Regions from separate parts of the Homo sapiens genome. Here region 2 is linked to region 1. The links are contacts of gene promoters, found by promoter capture Hi-C in blood cells and fetal thymus (Javierre and others, 2016). All regions are on one chromosome and are shown on one strand. The core of a region is centred on a gene start or on the middle of the fragment in contact, and the rest is flanking DNA. Distances in the headings are between cores, read along the strand shown.

Region 1 (3,095 bases), core at 516-3,015:
CCAACATAAACTTTATAGTTCTCTTCTGTTGCATTTCTACTCTCCAATATTTCTGATTCTTTTCCTCTCTTTTTTTTTTTTTGGATAAACAAGTTTATTTGTAAATTTAGTCAACATACATAATTGACCTAAAAACTTCAATAAGATAAATTTTAAAACCACTTGGAAGGCCATCTCTATAAAAATGATTTTCCCAGGACAGTAACCAGATGTAACCTAACCTAACACCATCTTAACCGGCAGAGGTTCAGTGGGCTAGAGCTTTGTGCTCCTCCCCTACACCAAGTTTTTATAATACAAATGCCACAAGAAAAAGAACTTCAGTACTGTTTCCTCTTAGCAGAGGAGAAAACTCAACCTAGTTATGAGACCAACCACACAACACAATGAAAAGCTGCACTAGTTCAGAATATTAGTTAACAGATGATGCTGGTGTGAATAACTCATATTTTTTTCTAGAGCCCTTATAAATAAAATCCCCCAGTTAGTGTTTCCATTATCAGCTAGAGGGTTAGTTAACATGTGGTAGAATGAGGATTTATGCAAGGTATAAATGCACATAGCATTTTACTACTATGAGAACAAGTGCAGTCAGAAGAAAACCAACTGGACTCTAAATTACACACACCTTAATGACAAGACTCCCCACCACTTGTGAATGTAAAACATTTAATTTGAAAATGTTGACACTACAATATATAAAATAGCTATTATAAATGCACATATTGTATTCTATAGCTGCCAGGTTTAATTTTTTTTTTTTAAAGGAAACTATAAGTTACACTGTGGTTAAGGTTTGTATCTTCACCCTTGAAAAAGCCTACATTCTATCACAGTGATGTATGGTCAGACTTAACAGCCCCAATTGTTAAACACTTGGATCAAGTCATAACCAGTTTTATTGCAAAAGGACCCTGTTGTACACATTTATCAATTCTAGTACCTTAATAGCTACCCAACAAGTCATTAACATACAGAAACATGCATCATGAGAAGCAAGAAATATCACGCATCCGTTTTGCATATTAACAACTTGTCACTCCTGAGCAACAGTGCTGACATCACTGAGGTCTGTAAACAGTCACTTTTCGCATTCATCCTGAGTGAAAGATGGAATGACTTAAGTACAAATGCAACATATAAACAATTTCTTACAAAAAAAGTCACCAATTAAACCAAAGTATTTTACAGAATTTACTACAAAATGCCATAAAAACTGCCTTCACTTAAGCTCTCTCTCCCCGTATCCGGCGAGCCAACTGGATGTCTTTGGGCATGATGGTGACTCTCTTAGCGTGGATGGCACACAGGTTAGTATCTTCCAACAGACCCACCAGGTACGCTTCGCTAGCCTCCTGCAGCGCACCGACGGCTGCGCTCTGAAACCTCAGGTCAGTGTTGAAATCCTGCGCGATCTCCCTCACCAACCTCTGGAAGGGCAGCTTCCGGATGAGCAGCTCGGTCGACTTCTGATAACGACGAATCTCTCGAAGCGCCACGGTCCCAGGCCTGTAGCGATGAGGCTTCACCCCGCAGGTAGAGGGGGTGCTTTTCCTGGCAGCTTTCGTGGCCAGCTGTTTGCGGGGGGCTTTCCCACCGGTGGATTTACGAGCAGTCTGCTTGGTTCGGGCCATTTTCTTTCACCCAACGCCGAAGTTTTAGGCCACTTCTCCGACCTCCGCGCTGCTTCCGCTGCCCGAGGAAGAGCCGCAGTCGCGAGCGAAGAACCGACACTGGTCCAACGAACGACCAAACCGCTCTGCGCCCTCCTCTCTTTTATCTGCATCCCTTCCATTCTTCAAAGCCCATTTCGGTGTTTCGTTTTTTGTTGTTGTTTTGTTTTTTGAGACGGAGTCTCGCTTTGTTGCCCAGGCTGGAGTGCAGTGGCGTGATTTCGGTTCACTACAACCTCCACCTCCCAGGTTCGAGCGATTCTCCTGCCTCAGCCTCCAGAGTAGCTGGGATTACAGGCGCCTGCCACCACACCTGGTTAATTTTTGTATTTTTAGTAGAGACGGAGTTTCACCATGTTGGCCAGGCTGGTCTCAAACTCCTGACCTCAGGTGATCCGCCCGCCGCAGCCTCCCAAATTACTGGGATTACAGGTGTGAGCCACTGCACCCGGCCTTTCAAAGCTCATTTCAATCCCACCTCCGTCACAAAGCATTCTTCAGCCACCTTCGTTTTCATCCTTTTTTTCTCTGCACTCTTTCTACCCTTATCATTTACTTGACACTATGCAAATTCTACATGTATATGTATTTCTCATTTATTTTTAGTAATTATCTTTTTTCTTATTATAAAAGTAATACTTGTCCAATTTAAAATACAAAAAATATAGAGAAACAAACTGAAATGTGGAATCACATGTGATAAACACACACACAAGTTGGCTGAATATCTGTTACTCTTGGAATGGGGAAAGAATCATCTAGTCATCTGCCAAGAGGTATAAACCTAAAGTTTAGAAACAGAAATCTGACTTTTAAATGTTACAGTTCTATATGATATTTGTTCCATGGAGTAAATCATAAAGTTTCTCTCTCTCTCTCTCTTTTTTTTTTTTTTTTTTGTTTTTTGGGAGATGGAGTTTCACTGTCCTCACCCAGGCTGGAGTGCAATGGCACGATCTCGTCTCGCTGAAACCTCCACCTCCCAGGTTCAAGCAATTCTCCTGTCTCAGCCTCCCAAGTAGCTGGGATTACAGGTGCCTGCCACCACACCTGGCTAATTTTTGTATTTTTAGTAGAGACGGGGGTTTTACCATTTTCGCCAGGCTGGTCTCGAACTCCTGACGTGAAGTGATCCACCCACTTCAGCCTCCCAAAGTGCTGGGATTACAGGAGTGAGCCACCGTGCCTGGCCACAAAGTATCTCTTTTGTCAGGTGAGTTTTTTAACTTCTAGAAATATGCCACAAAGTGAGCCAGGTGTGGTGGCTCCGCCTGTAATGGTAGCACTGGGAGGCCGAGGCAGGTGGATCACGAGGTCAGGAGTTTGAGACGAGCCTGGCCAACATGGCAAAACCTGTCTCTACTAAAAATACAAAAATTAGCCAAGCGTGGTGGCATACGCCTGTAGTCCCAGCTACTCGGG
Region 2 (3,388 bases), core at 256-2,755, 280 kb after region 1:
TTGATAATGTTTTTACTTTCTGGGGCAACAAGCTGTTCCAAGCTTATTTTTCTTCCTTTTCTTTTTTTTTTTCCAATTTTATTTTGTACTTTTTCCGCCCTGGACCTGGTTTAGGTGTGGTGCTTTTAATGAAAAATGGTATGAATTTCAGCTATTCTAATTGTGGATAGTGATATTTCATTGTGGTTTTAATTTGCGTTTCTCTGATGACTAATGATTTTGAGCATCTTTCCATGTGCTGATTGATCATTCATATATCTTCTTTGGTAAAAGCATCTATTCACTGGGAGGCGGAGGTTGCCATGAGCCGAGATACACCACTGCACTCCAGCCTAGGGGACACAGCAAGACTCTGTCTCAAAAAAAAAATAAAAAGTGTCTGTTCAAATCTTTCACTCATTTTAAGAAAATGGGTTGTCATTTTTTTCCTATGGAACAGAATTTATTGGATAGTAGCATTTTAGGAAAAATATAAGCTCTACTATATATATATATAAATCTATATAGATAGATAGATAGATAGATACAATCAACTGTAAAGTCCATCTCAACTTCAGAAAATGTAAAGACATGTCCATCTTAGAAATGAAGAAATGGCTTCCTTGCAAGTTTGCAAGAACATTAGTGACATAATGTATAAAGTACTTAACATAAGTGTTCAAAGGGTAACTGTTGTTACTATTATCAACTGTATTAATTAAACTGTTTTGAGATTTAACACACATGTTACAGACTTTAAGAAAGCAGCTGAGTGCAGGTTTTTTGTTTTAGTTTTGCGTTTATGCCAATGTGAAAATATGAACAGCTCAGTTCTACATTCTGTTCCCTGAAAATACCACGAGAGCTATTAGACAGTCTTGAAAGGCAGTATCTAACATAAGCTTTGTGTGTTCATGGATATTTGTTCAATAATAACATTTAAATAATGAGGGAGGCCACTTCTAAAGACTTATCATTTACCTGATCTACACAATATCTAGCATAGGACCAGTTCTCAATTGACGGCAAACAGTCCCAGCAGGTCACTTCATTTTGAACAGACATTGCAATTGCACTTGAGAAATCATGCCAAGTTTTGCAGGGATTGTCCTTGGACTTGTCACCACGAAGACATAACTCATGCTATTTACATATTATAGCATTTTCTTTCTTTTTTTTTTTGAGACGGAGTCTCACTCTGTTGCCCAGGCTGGAGTGCAGTGGTGCGATCTCTGCTCACTGCATGTTCTGCCTCCCGGGTTCACGCCATTCTCCTACCTCAGCCTCCTGAGTAGCTAGGACTACAGGCGCCCGCCACCACACCCAGCTAATTTTTTGTATTTTTAGTAGAGACGGAGTTTCACCATGTTAGTCAGGATGGTCTCAATCTCCTGACCTCGTGATCTACCCGCCTCAGCCTCCCAAAGTGCTGGGATTACAGGCATGAGCCACCGTGCCGGGCTATTATAGCATTTTCTAGACTAGTTCAATCTGCAATGTCCTTGCACTGACCAGGGCTCCATTTCCTTTATCAGAGGGCTATGATGGAAATGATGTGGAGTTCACCTGGCTGAGACGGAATGACTCTGTGCATGGGCTGGAAACCCTGTGGCTTGCTTAGTACACCATACAATGGTATTTCACCTTGGACACCAGATTGCAGCAGGAGACAGGTAACTCATGTGACAATTTTTTTTTTTTAATTTTTACCATTGTTTTCGTAGATATTCCTAGGCCAGTTCTAAGAGTTTGTTTCTTGGGAGATTAGTGCTGGAGGCCAGAAGTCTGAGATCAAGGTTGGTTTTTTCTGAGGCCTCTCTCCTTGGCTTGGAAACAGCCGTTTTCTCGGTGTCTTCACATGGTCTTTTGCTCTGTACCTGTCCAAATTTCCTTTTCTTATAAGGACATCACTTGTATAAGATAAGGGTTTTCCCCTCATTTTAACTTAATTACCTCTTTAAAGGCCCTATCTCCAAACACAGTTACATTCCGAGGTACTGCAGGTCAGGGCTTCAGCACATGAATTTTGGGCAAGGATGGAGAGGGTTGGAAACAATACAATTCACCCCGTAACACCAGATCTGACTCCTCTCACTAGCCTCCTCAAAGAGTGAGGGGTTACTGTGTGTCCTTTTCAGATTCAAATTAAACAAGCTTTTGCTCTGTCAGCCAATTCTGGGAAACCAAGTTTGGTTTGGGCAGCCAGTCAGGTTGTCTTTTTATTACTAAGTTGTAAGAGTTTTTTTTTTTTTTTTTTTTTTTTTTTTTTTTTTTTTTTTTTTTGAGATGGAGTCTTGCTCTGTCACCCAGGCTGGAGTGCAGTGGTGCAATCTTGGCTCTCTGCATCCTTTGCCTCCTGGGCTCAAGCCATCCTCCCACCTCAGCCTCCAGAGTAGCTGGGACGACAGGCACGTGCCACCTTGGCTGGCTAATTTTTTTGTATTTTTGGTAGAGATGGGGTTTCATCATGTTGGCCAGGCTGGTCTTGAACTCCTGAACTCAAGTGATCCTCCTGCCTCAGCCTCCCAAAGTGCTGGGATTACAGGCGTAAGCCACTGTGCCCGGCCAGTTGTGAGAATTTTGTATGTATTCTGACTACCAGTCCTCTGTCAGATATATGTATTATGATGATTTCTCCCAGCCTGTGGCTTGCCTTTTAATTTTCTTAATTTTGTCTTTCAAAGAGCAGAAGTTTTGCATTTTGATAAAAATGCAACTTACCAATTATTTCTTTTATGGTTTCTGCTTTGGCAAGTTTGTAAATATTTTTTTCCCTGTGTTGCATGGTTTTAGCAATTATCTTTAGGTCTATGATCCACATGGAGTTAATTTTTGTGTGTGGTGTGAGGTAGGGATTGAGGTTTTTTTTTTTTCCAATATAGATATGCAGAATTTAGGCTGGGTGTGGTAGATGACATCTGTAATCCCAGCACTTTGGGAGGCCAAGATGGTTAATTGCTTGACGTCAGGAGTTCGAGACTAGCCTGGGCAATATGGTGAAACCCTGTCTCTACCAAAAATACAAAAAAATTATCTGGGTGTGGTAGCATGCATCTGTAGTCCCAGCTACTTGGGAGGCTGAGGTGGGAGGATCGCTTGAGCCCAGGAGGCAGAAGTTGCAGTGAGCCAAGATGGTGCCACTGCACTCCAGTCTGGGTGACAGAGCCAAACCCTATCTCATTAAAAAAAAAAAAAAGAGAGAGAGAAGAAAAGGGAAAAGAAGATATGCAGTTGTTCCTGCACCATTTGTTGAAAAGACTGGAATGTTGATTTTAATAATGCATGTAAATTCTCCACCACCTTGGGAAATGGTGTTGGCTGAAAATTACATGTGCCCTGATAACATATGCTTTAACAGAGTACCTGGTGAGTGGAATGAGAATGTGGTGGTTTGCATGAGTAACTTTGC

The links. The method cuts DNA at HindIII sites, captures the fragments that hold promoters and counts their contacts. A CHiCAGO score of 5 or more calls a contact.
Region 2: a fragment that was not itself captured here is called in contact with the fragment with the promoter of H3-5 in region 1 in 1 of 17 cell types (non-activated CD4 T cells); the score reaches 6.9 in non-activated CD4 T cells.

What each region holds. Positions count from the first base shown.
Region 1 is chr12:31,790,533-31,793,627 of GRCh38, forward strand. It overlaps H3-5 (H3.5 histone), which reads right to left and starts at 1,766. Exons shown (of 1, transcript NM_001013699.3): 1 at 653-1,766. The coding sequence starts at 1,634. The coding sequence ends at 1,227. The HindIII fragment of the contact is 13,966 bases long and covers 1-3,095 here.
Region 2 is chr12:32,071,224-32,074,611 of GRCh38, forward strand. No RefSeq gene overlaps it. Among named protein-coding and RNA genes, the nearest start is that of BICD1, 34 kb to the right of the region's middle. The HindIII fragment of the contact is 1,252 bases long and covers 880-2,131 here.